2 separate regions of the Homo sapiens genome follow, and region 2 is linked to region 1. The links are contacts of gene promoters, found by promoter capture Hi-C in blood cells and fetal thymus (Javierre and others, 2016). All regions are on one chromosome and are shown on one strand. Each heading gives the region's core, a stretch centred on a gene start or on the middle of the fragment in contact. The rest is flanking DNA. Distances are from core to core; before and after follow the strand shown. Region 1 holds the start of COG5 (component of oligomeric golgi complex 5). Region 2 holds the start of IFRD1 (interferon related developmental regulator 1).

The links. The method cuts DNA at HindIII sites, captures the fragments that hold promoters and counts their contacts. A CHiCAGO score of 5 or more calls a contact.
Region 2: a fragment that was not itself captured here is called in contact with the fragment with the promoter of COG5 in region 1 in 1 of 17 cell types (fetal thymus); the score reaches 7.9 in fetal thymus.

What each region holds. Positions count from the first base shown.
Region 1 is chr7:107,560,932-107,567,851 of GRCh38, forward strand. COG5 (component of oligomeric golgi complex 5) reads right to left here and starts at 2,989. Exons shown (of 22, transcript NM_006348.5): 1 at 2,872-2,989. The coding sequence starts at 2,965. DUS4L-BCAP29 (DUS4L-BCAP29 readthrough) reads left to right here and starts at 3,040. Exons shown (of 13, transcript NR_163941.2): 1 at 3,040-3,278; 2 at 3,657-3,745; 3 at 6,119-6,255. It overlaps DUS4L (dihydrouridine synthase 4 like), which reads left to right and starts at 3,040. Exons shown (of 8, transcript NM_181581.3): 1 at 3,040-3,278; 2 at 3,657-3,745; 3 at 6,119-6,255. The coding sequence starts at 6,140. RefSeq lists silencers at 2,868-3,078, 3,117-3,216 and enhancers at 2,917-3,036, 3,567-4,766. The HindIII fragment of the contact is 2,647 bases long and covers 1,222-3,868 here.
Region 2 is chr7:112,447,647-112,454,832 of GRCh38, forward strand. It overlaps IFRD1 (interferon related developmental regulator 1), which reads left to right and starts at 2,814. Exons shown (of 12, transcript NM_001550.4): 1 at 2,814-3,136. The coding sequence starts at 3,043. LOC128031837 reads left to right here and starts at 2,841. Exons shown (of 1, transcript NM_001414739.1): 1 at 2,841-2,999. The coding sequence starts at 2,841. The coding sequence ends at 2,999. RefSeq lists enhancers at 1,904-2,721, 2,722-3,539, 2,839-3,128, 3,369-3,418, 3,539-3,658. The HindIII fragment of the contact is 4,445 bases long and covers 1-3,662 here.

The DNA.
Region 1 (6,920 bases), core at 1,739-4,238:
AGTTTTAGAATGCACAAAAAGGCAGGAAAATGAGGAAGATAGGAAAGTGGGGGGTGGACAGAGAAAATGAAAGCAATCAAAGAGACTAAAGAGTGCTCAGGGAGAAAGAGAAACAAAAAAGAATGGCAAAAGCCAAAAGAAGGGATAAAGAAAGTAAGTATTAGTATTGTCATAGAGCTTACAAAGATCAAACACAACGGGATGTGGCATTTGAGGGCTGACAGCCTTTAAAGAGATGAATTATATAATGCTTCTCTTTTATAGTTTCCTCATTCCCATAGAGGGCATATCAGAAACACCTCACCAATTTTCATACTATGCATCTGTGCTCACCAAGCCTATCAATCCGATACTCTGTCATTGGCCAAATCCCCGATATAGTGAATCAAAGTTTCTGCTGGAAATGCTTAATTCCTCAGGAATGTTGGGGGTGGAGGGGCAACAGAGACCGCTTAATTCAGAACAAACTGAACTGACAAGTATCTACAGGAACCTGGAAAAGAGCACCTAGAGAATTAAGAATTTTTAAAAAGCACGGCACCCATAAACCGCATGAGGAAAGTATTTCAAGAAAGGAATCAAATGTTATTACAAGTTAAAGGACCAAAAAAGTGTCCATTTGTCGTATGTGCAAGAAAGTCATTGAAAACCTTGCAAAGTTACTTCAATGGCATAGATTGAGGGTGACTGAGTCCCCAGGAAACAGGAAGAAAAAATCCAGAGCAAAGTAGGAGGCACTATCCTTAGAACGGAGCAGAGACTCGGCCGGGCGTGGTGGCTCACGCCTGTAATCCCAGCACTCTGGGAGGCCAAGGCAGGCAGATCACGAGGTCAGGAGATCGAGACCATCCTGGCTAACACGGTGAAACCCCGTCTCTACTAAAAATACAAAAAATTAGCTAGGCATAGTGATGGGCGCTTGTAGTCCCAGCTTCTCAGGAGGCTGAGCCAGGAGAATGGCGTGAACCCCGGAGGCAGAGCTTGCAGTGAGCCGAGACTGCGCCACTGCACTCCAGCCTGGGCAACAGCGCGAGACTCCGTCTCAAAAAAAAAAAAGAAAGAAAGAAAGAAAGGAGCAGAGGCTCCACTTCCGTTGCAATTGAAAAGGCAAGGGAAAAAAGGTGCAACAGATGGTTATACGTTGAGGTTAAATTCATAGGTTTGATGGGCAAGAAATGGAGAAAGTTCACATCTGATGGATCCTCTTTTTCTCCCCAGGGAAGCTTAAAGTCATTTGTTGAGCTTGAAGCGAAAGGTTTGAAAAGGGTAAAGAAGATTTAAACAATCACTGTGGAGAATGGCAGAGAACCAAGGAGGAAAATACAGAAGGCAGAACTGAAGAGTATTTACCGTCCAAGAACTGATTACAATTCCTGAAATACATCCTACTGAAACATATATCCAATGTTCCACTGTTCACCTGGGGAAGTCCTGTCTACAGTTTAAAACGTCTCCACCTAGAAAGCCTTTTCTGACATTTCCTAACCAGTTTCCAACCCCCAGTTATCATTCTCCTCTGTATTAATGCTCTACTTTATATGCAATCCTACTGCTATCTTACATCACTATATTACAGCACCTACCTTTATAGTCTACAAGATTATTTCCTCTACTAGATGGTGAACTACTTGAGGGCAAAAATTGCACGTGTATCAGGAGCAACTGCAAATATATCAGGGTCTCTGCCTTGTATCTAAAGTTTAAATTCAGTTTAGCCAAGTTTTAGACAGAGACCCGGTCCTAGAGTTTCCAACATGAAATAGTTCAGAAAACATCATTGCTTTTGACAAAAGTACATAAATTATCATGAAAAGGCACGTAATTCAGGATGACAATAAAATATTTAACAGTCAGAGAAAATAAACAATAATTTGGAACTTTATTTCATTTATTACCCACTTCGGTCTTCAAATGTGTGCATGTGCTTCTAACTGCGATGATGAATTTAAAAAACATTCTGCACCTACTGTATGCAAGATACTGCTATTCACACTGTGGGATATTAAAAAAAGTTTGCAATACAGAAGAGATTAAAACAAGTATACAAATGATTTTAGTACAAGGTAGAATGCGATGGCCACTAGAGAAAAAATTAAGAACAGGTGAGAAGGGCTTTATTTTTATGCTTATAAATGTGAACTTTATTCTGAAGGATAAGAGATTCGGGACATGGTAACTGGATTGACACAACTGAATATGCTTTTCAAGTATATTATATCTAACTTTTCTTATTTTGGGCAACTTCTCTCCAAACTGACTAGCAATAAAATCTGACTGCTAGATTCTGTACAAATGGTTAATCCCAACCTGAACAAATGTCTCAAACCCTCCCCCACGTGTCACTGTAGATAACTGCCTCATAAAGGAGGAAAAAAAAAACCAGCCTGTAAGAGGGGTCACCTGTACAGTCCATTTGTTAAAGGAGTAAGCGTTTCCAGCTCTACTTTAAAACAAGGCCCTATTTCATTATGCGTCTGCCGTCTGTTCTAGAGCTTACACTTTTGAAGAGCTCGAACGCTACACCCCTTCGTCAAGAACTGCGGCAGCAGCCGGTGGCTGCCAACGCGGTCCACAGGGTTTGGGCTCCCGAAACTTCAGGGAAGCTGGAGGCATGGGGGGGGGGGGGGTCGAGTTGAAATGAGGAACACACAGAAACCAAGTGTCCCCAAGACTCCAGAAAAGAGGGAGCCAGTCCCAGAGTAAATAGGTTGGCTAGAACAGTACCCAAGCCAGGGGGCCGGGCGGAGGGGAGTGGTCACGTCCAGACTGGAAAACTTTCTGCAAAGCAACGGGTTGGGTCCACCTCGCTGTCCAGGTGCGGAGCAGCGCAGACCCCCAACCCCACGACCTGGTCAGACCCCGTCTCCTTACCGTCCTGCAGAAGTTCCCGGACTGTAGCTGCAGCCGCTCCAGAGCCTCGAGCTCCGAGGCCAGCTACAGCGACGCTGCCGCCGCCACCTTCCATGTTGGCAGGTGCCGGGTTGATGTCGTCAGCAGCAGAACGGCTCCGCCCAGGTGGTGACGCAGAATCCCGGCGCCGCCCGCCCACCCAGCCCATGGCTCCAGGCCCACCTGGCGAACTGACTCTCAGCCCGCGCCTGGGCTAAGCCTGGCTAGGAGCCGCGCAGGTACTCGAGCAGTGGGCGCCCAGGGTCCGAGTGCTCTGCGCCCAGCGCACCGAGGGAGCCAAGGCCGTCGGGCCGGCGCTTTCAGCTGTCTCTCGCAGCAGCTCAGGGCCGCGCCCCCTGGGCTGGCGTCGTGCCCTAGCCAAGGAGAAGGTGGGCACCGGAACGTGGCCGCAGCGCTTATCTGTGAAGCAAGTATTAAACCTCAGAACAGGGGCCGCGCGGCGTAAGGCAGGAGAGCAGAGCGGAGGTTTCAGGGAGCTTCGTTTGCCCTCCACACTCACAAGAGTCACGCGTTAGTTGCTACACAGCTTTATCTGTTCCACGCCTTGATTGGCACTCCTGGGGTAATAAAAGCCCGCAGGAAATGCTTGGGAAGAAAAGTTGCTGGGGATGAACAGTGAAGAGAATTAGGGAGAGTCGATGAAGAAGGAAGTCTGAACCATAAAAGGACCAATAAAACTCACTGTCTCTACCCTCCTTCCTTCCCATGAGACCTTTGACCTTTTGCCTTTTCTACTTCTTCCTCAGTTTCAGTCACGTGCCAGACTTTTTCTTAATTACAAACTGATAGATGGTCCACATCTCAACTAACAGTATTGACGCTGTAAGAGCATCAGGTTGGTTCCCATTGTATCTTCTTTACTAATACGTTCGCGTTTTTGACCTAGATTTCTTTCTTCTAAGATAAATACTGATAAATTAACAGGGTCAGGCAACCACAAGTATGCAAGACAGTCTTAAGCTTCTTCGCAAAAAGAAGCTGGAAGATGACTTTTTCATTTTGTACAGTAGGTATGTATCCAGGAAACCAATTTTATCCAGTTCCAGAGCTACGTGGTTTTCTACATTCTGTTTCAAAAAGGTGCTATTACTTATCCTGTGCTTATCGCTGTTCTAAGTATTTTATAACTCAATGCATTTCATACTCATAACACCTCAGGTAAGCAAGTCTTATGCTACACTGCATTATGCTCTCTTTGTCTCAGAGGATTTTCCCTAGTATGTAAGATCTTAGTCATGATGGGAATAGGGGTGATTCATTCATTACTTGTGAATTAGGAATTGTTTTTCCTTCCTTGGCTTTATTCCCCCCAGTGGAAGATTTTAGAAGAGTGAGTAATATTCATTCATACAGCGAAAGTTTTGACCCCTCTACTCTGCATGCTCTCATGAGTTTACAAACATAAGACTCAATCCATATTCTAAAAGGAGTTAATAGGTAAGGTAGGAACCCATTTAAACAAACAATTGTACCAGGTGCTTTGGAATCTTTGGATTTACTTATTCCAGTAATTCCAAGCTTAGCTGCACATTGAAATCACCTGAAGAGCTTTAATAAAAACACTGATGCCTGCATCCTGAGCCCAGACGTTTGGATTTAATTGGTCTAGGGTATGGCTTGGGCATGCTAATTCTTAAAAGCTCCTCGGGTCATTGTAGTGTACAACTAAGGTAGAAAGCTACTGATTGTTTTGTTTTGTTGAGTTGGGGTCTAGCTCTGTTACCCAGGCTGGAGTGCAGTGGCAGGATCGTGGCTCACTGCAGCCTCAACCTCCTGGGCTCAAGGGATCCTCCTGCCCAAGCTTCTGGAGTAGTTGGGATCACAGTCGCTTGCTACCACGCCCAGCTGATTTTTATAATTTTTTTAGAGATGGGGGTCTCACTATATTGCCCAAGCTGGTCTCAAACTCCTGGCCTTAAGCAAGCCTCCCACCTTGGCCTCCCAAAATGCTGAGTTTACAGGTGTGAGCCCAGTCCCCTGAAACCTACTGATTTATTCTTTCAGCAAATAAATATTGAGGCCTTCTGTATGCCATTTACTATGACTGCAGGAGTGGATAAAAATGAAGTAATTCTTGCTAAAATCACTAATGACCTTGTTGCCATTGCGCTTTATTTTTGCCTTACTTTGATGTTTAAGATACCTATCCCCTCCTTCCTTCATAATGGTCTCTCTCGTTTTCTGAGTATCACTCTTTAGGTTTATTCCTCCCAGCTCCAAAGTTCATCTTCAGTCTCTTTTGCTCTCCCCTTTTCCTCTGTTACTTAAATATTGGTGCTTCCAGCGGTTTCTTGCAAGATCCTGACATCCTTAAGTACCTTGGCTATTTTTAATTTCAACTCCTTGCCTAAAGGTTAAAGACTCTAAAGTTTGAGCAATTAGACCATTCTAAAGTTGGCCCATATCTGATTCTTTTTTTTGTTGTTGTTATTTTCTGCTTCATTTTTCCTTCATACATACCTGTTTCTAAGTTACTGAGGCCAAGGACTGGAATATGAAAAGTAGCCAACACTGTGAAATAGTAGGATTTTAAGTATAGCAAATGTAAAACATTTACAAACTCCATAATTTCATCACTCGTACCTGTACCTCTTGGGGTATAAAAGTGATTTACAATGCAATTGTAGAATTATAATTGAAATTTTCACTAGATAATATCACATTAAAATTTTTAAAAATAATTAACGTTTGTTTATCTTCTGATTCACAGACAGAACAGGATTCAAGAATTACAATAAAAGCACCAGCATATCTTTTGAAACACTGACTACTTAAGAGTTGCTCTATTAATGCCATTTAACTTTCCTGAATAAAACAAGATATTTCCAAATGCCAGTCGAGTATCATATATAAAATAATTCAAACCAAATTTCTTGGCTTACCAATCCCAACAAAGTAACATGTAAAAAATTTTTAAATAACATGAAAACTTACAACATGGTAAACTAGGGAAAAAAAAAAAATCTCGTTTTCTGCATCTTGTGTTTCCACAACTATCTTGGGTAGTTTTCCACATCTATTTATCTTACAAATAGAGGCAGCATTCTATAGTATCATATTGGATACTGTGAAAATAAGCTATTAATAAAAAAATTTCTGAGCCCACAAGCCTGATAAAAAATATATGTTGTTGGCAGTTGAAATTGTTAGAATGGAATTAATATAGTGAAAACATATTTTCTCTATACAAGCTTATTGTCTTTTTCAGATTTGAAACATATCTGTATTAATGAAGAGTGACTGCATGCAAACGACAATATGTCAGGAAAGAAAAAAAGATCCCATAGAAATGTTTCATTCTGGACAGCTGGTAAAAGTCTGTGCCCCAATGGTTCGATATTCAAAGTAAGTGTTGCAAAATGATTAATGAACTAAGATGAAATTTCCCTTTTATGCTCTGACTTTTTAAAAGTACTGTAAGACCACCCACCATATGGGAACTTCAAACTCTTAGCTTTGGAATCATGACTTAGAATTGAGTCATGATGCTACTACTTGCCTAGTATATATGTGATCCTGAGTAAACAATTAACTTCTCTGAGCTGCACTTTTTATATCTATAAAAATGGTGGTGGTTGTAACTCCTACCTATAAGTATATAATGGATATTAAATAGATATAAGTATTGATGTATAGATTTTTATGTGAACTTAAGTCTTGGGACAAATAGGAGTGCAATTATGGGTCCTAAGGTAGTTGTGTGTTCAGTTTTCGAAGAAATATTTCTTCGTATCTTTTGCTCATCTTCTAATTGGATTGTTTGCTCTTTTACTATTGAGTTTTTTTAGAAGTTTGTTATAAAATATACGTAACATAAAATTTACCTCTCGATCATTTTTAAGTATACAGTTCAGCAGTGTTAATTACATTCACATTGTTGTGCATCTGATCTCTAAAACTCTTTTCATCTTAGAAGATGGAAATTCTATCACATTAAACTGTGACTCCCCATTCCACTGTTCCTCACAGCAGCCCCTGGCAACCATTATTCTACTTTCTCCCTCTATGAA
Region 2 (7,186 bases), core at 190-2,689, 4.9 Mb after region 1:
CGTGCTTCCCCTTCCTTTCTGGTATTTGTAATCATTTAGTGACTTGATGTTTGGAGTCTTCTAATTTCTTTAAACATATTGCAAAATAGTATGTGGAGCTGAAGACCACTGTCCCATGAGGAGGTGGGCTACATCTTTGTGATGTTTGCACTGGTCTGGAGCTAAACTGCAGGCATAAAACTATAGTAAGGTAATTTTATCAAAAGTACAGTATCTCTCAGAATTCATTATACTGAAGGCTGTACTTCATGTTTGTAGTGATAAGTAGTTTCTCCCTTTCCTTGATCCAGAATGTATGTATGTAGTGATACATAAGTTTCTCCCTTTCCTTGATCCAGAAAAATCTAGTCAACAATTATTTCTTAAATGTTCATTTAACTATATATATACTGACTATAATTTCAATTTCAAATGTAACACTTCCTTTTGTGCCATGAGGGATACAGCAAGATTTTTTCAAGTTCCTGGGCCTGTAGATTTAAAAAAAAAAAAAAAAGAAAGAAAAGTAAGAAAAAAAGAAAAGAAATTAAAAAGAGGAAAAGATTTTTGTTCTTGGGAAGCTGATAATTTCATGAGATGACAGATGTATTCACAAATAAATGTAAAACAAGTACGTATATGATGTGGTGGGCCATGGCCAGGCCTGCCGCAGAACGACTAAGTGGATGTGAAGGGATTTGGAAAAAAAGCCCCTGCCCCAAATGCAAAGCACACGTTTCCAGGGCTGGAACCTGGATGTTAGGCCTAGGTGATGTGACTCCAGAGTGGCAAAACTGTTGCCTTATGTATAGTATAAATTGTTTCTGGATGGTGAAGAGCCTAGGGTTATAAAAGTTATTGAGTCTACAATTCTGTGAGACATCTCATTCTGTATAGGCCCTGTCACTGAGTTGCAGTGTGCCTCTAGATACAAGGAGTCAGTGTGAGCTGCTTCCTCCCCCACAACCTGCCTCCGTATTTGGTTTCTGTGCTCTGTGCAGTTTACTGGCTGCTTCAGGATTAAACAAAGTAAAAGCAACCCTGAAATGTTGCCCATTAAATAGCATCTTTGAGTAGGCCGTGTGGGGAGGTAATAAGTGCCATTAGGGCATTATTAGGATGAGTGTCAAAGAGTTGTGAGGAGGAAGAAACTTCTGGCTGGAGGCTTCAGGAAGGTGGCAGCATGAGCTACATCTTGAACGGTGGATAAAATTTCTTAAGGTGAAGATGGGAGGAAAGGCATTACAAGAACAGGAAAGAATATGAATGAGGAAATGGAGGTAGGAGAAGAGAGCCGTGTATTGGAAATGAAAAGCAGTCCTGTTTGGCTGAAGAACAAGAACTGTATGAGGAAGCAGTGAAAGATGAGGCTGGAAAGGGAGTCAGGGCCAGGCTAAAAGGGTTGGCATTTAAAGTTAGTCATGGGAGCCATGGAATGTTTTTGAGCAACTATTAAAGCAGGTGGATTAGTAAAATAGGGAACACACAAATAAATCTGGCAGCATTACTGTGCATGAAACATGGATGAAAAGACTGGGAGATCGCTTAAAATGCCCAGGCATGAACTGAGGTCACATGTGATCACAGAATAGGACAGGAATTTAAGAGTGCTATTTTAAAACTAATTGCTTTGCGGGTGGGGAGGGGGTGGTGCATCAAAGGGAAAAAAGACTATGAATTTGAGTTTTGGAATTTAACATATGGGAGGATAATAAATAGTACAGTGAACAAAGGGAAGACAGGAAGAAGGAAATATAGTATTCGTTTCAGAGATGTTGGGTTGAGGCACAAGTGGAACATTCTGGTGGAAATTTGCTACAGGCAATTGAAAATAGAATAGAGCTCAGCTGAGAGGTGGAGTGGCGGATGACTCACCTACATTGAGGTGAGTCAGGGACTTTGATCTGTCATAAGCATAGTATATGAACCTAATAACAGGCTCTAAATACTAGACAAATGTCCTAACAAGGAAGACAGAGATCTAGGAGTGCCTTGAGAAAAAAGGCAGCACTGCGATTATTGATCTGTATAACTTGTGTTTGTTTTACCAGCTGTGAAATTCTCAGAACTGGCAGGTAGTATTGTCAAGGGACACATTCTTGTATAGAAACCCACAACGCTGAATCGTCATATATTCCTAGTCTAGAATCTGAGATATACACGAACTCCACAACTAAGTAGACGAAAGCATCCCTTTTTTTGGGGGGGGGGGGGGATGGGGGGCACATAACCCTGAACCACGGTCCAATTACAGGTACAGTACTGATGATGGCTTAAGTAGTTCATGGAACTAGTTAAAACTAAAACCATGGAAATGTTACCCAGGAGAGGTAAGGCTGCGTGCCTGGCAGGTGCCGCAGGGAAGTAGGGGAAAGGTTAAGGAGAACACCAGCCTCCGGAGAAAGAGAAGCAAAGGTGATTGCATAGCTGCCAGCTGGAAGCCGACTCTCGTCATAGGGCATACTCGCCCCACTGTGCATCGCCGGTGCCTACCTCACCCAGTTCCAAGGCGGGGGCGCGCCGAGGCAGGGGTGGGGTCACCAGGAGAAAAGCAAGTGGGCAGAAAAGCCCGTTGGGAAGAGACGGCTGGGAGGAGGCCCCGGCCCCAGCCTTACTACGTTTCCCAGAATTCAGTGAGGCCACGAAGACAGGCTCCCTGGGCGCGGACGGAAGACTGGCCGCATGGGATTTGTAGGTAGGATCCGCGCCCCGCCCGACGGAGGCGTCCAGTGGGGAGGTGTGCAGGGATTGGTTGGGAAGCGCTCAAGCCCCGCCCACAGAGTGACGTCAGGTGGCGGTATTGCTACTTAAGGCGTCGTGGCCTCCCCTGCCCCGCCTTAGCTCCCGCGCTAGAGAGAAACATGTATCGTTTTCGATCACAGCTCTTCACGGGGATTTCTGCTGCCGCCACCGCCCACTCTTACCCCCGCCGCTTCTCGACTCTGTTGTTAGCCGAAGACTCGCCTCTCAGCCGCCCGCCGCACAGACGCACGAGTAAAAAGTGCAGCTCCATCGGCTGATCCTCGCTAAGCTCCGACTCTGGGCGGCACCGGGCGTCCCACGATGCCGAAGAACAAGAAGCGGAACACTCCCCACCGCGGTAGCAGTGCTGGCGGCGGCGGGTCAGGAGCAGCCGCAGCGACGGCGGCGACAGCAGGTAAGGGGTATCCCCGCCGCCGGCATCCCAGTTGCCGGCCAGGCTGGCGAGTCTTCCATGCTTCGGCACGGTGGGAGTTGTAGTTCTTTCTCTGATGTACACATTTGCATTTCCAGGGTGCGTGGTTTGGCTACTGAACTACAATTCCCAGCGTGCCCTGGGCGCTGCTCCTCGCGCGATTTAGATCTGGCGTGCGAACCGGACTCTTGGGCACCGGCCGTGGGGGCAGGGAGGAACGGGTCCTTGGGCCTGAGAGTGTGTCGGGACAGGGGCTGACCGGGAGCTGGGCGGGAAAGGAACCATTGTCAGAGTTCCTTTCTCGGCGGCGATCTCGCCCGATCTCTCCCCGACCACGGGTGGGGAAGAACGGGGAGTTGAGCCCGTGCCGTCACTGGCCGCCTTTGACACCCTGGCTCCAACATGGAGCTCCTGGGATGCCAGACGTCCGGCGGGTTTGGACGGGCTCTTGCGTCACGCGGCCTGGGCCTTGCGCGGTGGGCCCGGGGTGACGCAGAGGCGCTGGGGAAGCTTTCCGTCTCGCAGGTCCACCTGGCCAGGCGAAGGCGTCGGAGGCGGGGGGACCACTTTCTCCCCCCTAGGCTGTGCTCCTTCCCCTAACTGGCACCTGCAGAAGCCCTGAACCTCTAGCACCTCTGCGACCACCCGAGGCGACCTCCTGCTCACGGGGGGAAGAAACGCGTTCTCCTTTGTGCTGCATTCTATATGTTCTCTGCAGTGAGCCCCAGAGAGGCAGGGTGGTGAGGAGCTTAGGTTGCAGTTGGCTAAAAGTTGAGGTTATTGTGCCCTCGCTACGAAGTTGAAACTTTTCCTGGGTGGGATGAGTAGGTGCTTAACTGAACTTATGGTTTTCTACTTATTATATGGTTAAGAAAAAGGATTCCAATTGGAATTGGAAGGCCCTTCTAGGAGAGACCCCAATAAACTCAAATCGAGTATTAAATAACCTGGGTAATATTTTATTTAGAAATTTAAACAGGAGTTAAATATTGGAGTATTCTCCGACGTTATCACACTGGAACTATTAGCCATCAGGTATTTTTGGACACAGTTGCCCCTCTGCCACGGCTGCCACTCAGAATGATATGCCTTTGTTCACAAGAAAAGTAAATATGGGGTTATGTTGTTAAAGGTTATTGGAAACTGGCATTTAAAAAAGCTCAAAAACTCGTGATCATGTATTAAACATTTAATAATTGACCATAGGGAGGGATTCTTAAAACAGCAATTTTTTACATTTTTTAGGTGCCTCTTTATTTTGAATGCTCTCCATGTTGATGAAATTCATTCTTTATCAAGATGTAAAATATGTAATTTATTGTGGCCTCTGGTTGCTCTATGTGAATTGAGGATACTTTTTTTTTTTTTGTTAAGGGAAAGAGGGAGTCTGGCTCTGTCGCCCAGGCTGGAGTGCGGTGTGGTGTGATCATAGCTCACTGCAACCTCTTAACTCCTGGGCTCAAGCAGCTCTCCCTCCTCAGCCTCCTGTAGCTAGGACTACAGGCATGTGACACCATTCCTGGCTATTTTTTACATTTTTTGTGGAGACAAGGTCTATGTTGGCCAGGCTGGTCACGAGTCCCTCGTCCCCAGGGATCTTCCTGCCTAAGCCTCCCACAATGCTGGGACGGTGCCTGGTCTGAGGATATTTCTTACCACTGTGTTTCAGCTTTTCCTCATCTGAATCAAACATTTGAATTCTTTCTAGAAGGTATTTATTTTATTCTATTACCCTTTTGTTGATGAAATGGAAAAGTTTGAAAGCTAAAGTTTGAAAGTTATAATGATGTTAGTAATGGCCTAGATCACGCACAAACCTTTAATCCCGTCTAAAGTTTCTGGGCAAGCCTCCTTCCCTCTTTGTGCTTATAGTACCTATACAGGCCTCTGGTGGCTGTATGGGGATTGCCTTTTAAATTTTGCTTCAGGGCTCATTTGTGACCTTTCATCAGCTTTATTGCTGCTACCTTTTCACTATTTTAGTAGAAAAGATCCATTTCATCACTGAATTTTAGCATATGTAAACAAGTGGAAAATAATTCTTTGATTAATTTATAACACAATACATGCTTTGAATATCTTTGGAAGTGTGTGCTAGAACTTGTTAACTGTGGTTACCTCAGAAGTGGAGCTGGGGAAAGGTATGGGGGTGAGATTTACTTTTTAAAACTTTAACTTGGTCCTATGTGAATGTTTTACTTGTTTAATAAACAATGAATAAATAATAGTTGAGTAGAAGAGATGGAAAATTACACAAACTTTTGCTTACTTAACAAGCCACTTACCTAACTAGTATTTTTAAATGACATCTAAAAGAAATGGGATTCAAATGAGGTCTCCACTATGTAACCAAATTGTCATTATTACTTTAATGAGTTTTCTATTTAAACTCTTTATTTTTTTTATGTTAGTGGAGAGTTTTAGGAAGCTAATAAAATTGACTTCTTTTATACAGGTATGTCATAGCACTTAATTTAAAGAGAATATTTTTAAGAAAGAACAAAACCTTGTTAGTAAGCCCTCTAGAAATAAGTACTTTATGTGCCTAGAGTGCCATCTCTTTCGTGGTACTTAGGATCACAGTGTGGGTGGGTGAGTTTGACCTAAATATCAGGCATTCATACAGGGTTCTTTTTCTTGATACATATATATGTGTATTTTTTTTCTTTCCCTCGAATCTTAGAAATCATTAATACTGATGAGTTAAGGGAGCAGAGTAAGAGCTGCATAGGAGGAATACTCTTAGAAATAGGCTATGAAAAAGAAAAACTGTGAATTGACTTGTGAATAAATGTTAATAAAATTAATCAGATGACACTCATCTGTTGCCATTACTTCAGTCATAAAAACGAGGAAGATAGATCCAGAAATAGAGTGTGATGTCATAGGTCTTTGTTTATTCCTGTCCTAAGCACTCCAAGAAATTTTGAGATTTTGGCTTCATTGCTTAATCTTTATGCTTTACTACTTTGGCACCACGCAAGCAAATCTGAAGGCCACTTGCTTGCTGTGTTAATTTAAAAATCTGCTAAATTCTCTGTTTTGATTTTAAAAAAGACAACTCCGTTAAAAAAAAAAATCCAGCCCAACAGTAACAGGCTTAAATTTGGAGCATTAAAAAAAAACCGTTAAGGTGGTGACGTTTGAACATACGAACTTTGATTTTACTGAAAGGGAATTAGGTTCAGAGGTTAATCAGGTGACTCACGGTCACTTTTGGGGCAGAATTTGGGACTTAATTTAACTCAGTGCTGAATTGTAGTTTATGACTTGGCAGTCCTTTTATTAATACAAAATCCCTAAGTGACTGTATATTTATTCCTGAAGTTAATGAAGTTTAAAGAAAGATTCTAGTTTTTAAAAAGAAGATTTTATTTTTTTAGTAACAGCATTGGTACTTTTTTTTTTTTGAGACAGAATTTTACTCTTGTCCACAGGCAGGCAGTGCAATGGTGCTATCTCGGCTCACTGCAGTCTGTGCCACCTGGGTTCAAGTGATTCTGTGCCTCAGCCTCCCAATTAGCTGGGATTACAAGCGCCTGCCACCAGGGCCAGCTAATTTTTGTATTTTTAGTAGAGACTGGGTTTCGCCATGTTGGCCAGGCTGGTCTCCAACTCCTGACCTCAGGTGATCTGCCGGCCTCAGCCTCCCAAAGTGCTGGGATTATAAGTGTGAGCCACCGCACCCGGCCAGCATTGGTACTTTTAAACTCTTGCACATTGTAGAAACTTTCCCTTAAAGGTAGTTTATCTGATAGGCTTTTATACTATATCAAATACCAAAACTTCTATTTTAAGCCTTTTTTGTCTTCTCTCACTTCAAGTTGTCTTTAAAACTACCCTGCCTTAACTCCTTAATTCCCCTTAACATAAGACATGTGTAACCTAAAAACCCATTCACCAGTTCATGTTTGCTAAGTCCAGCCATTCTCATTGGAAAATATATTTGTCTTATTCTTATGATTATCTATGATACAACACTATTTCTGGATCTGTTTTCATTGTCTTCATGATTTGAAATCATGGTCTAGA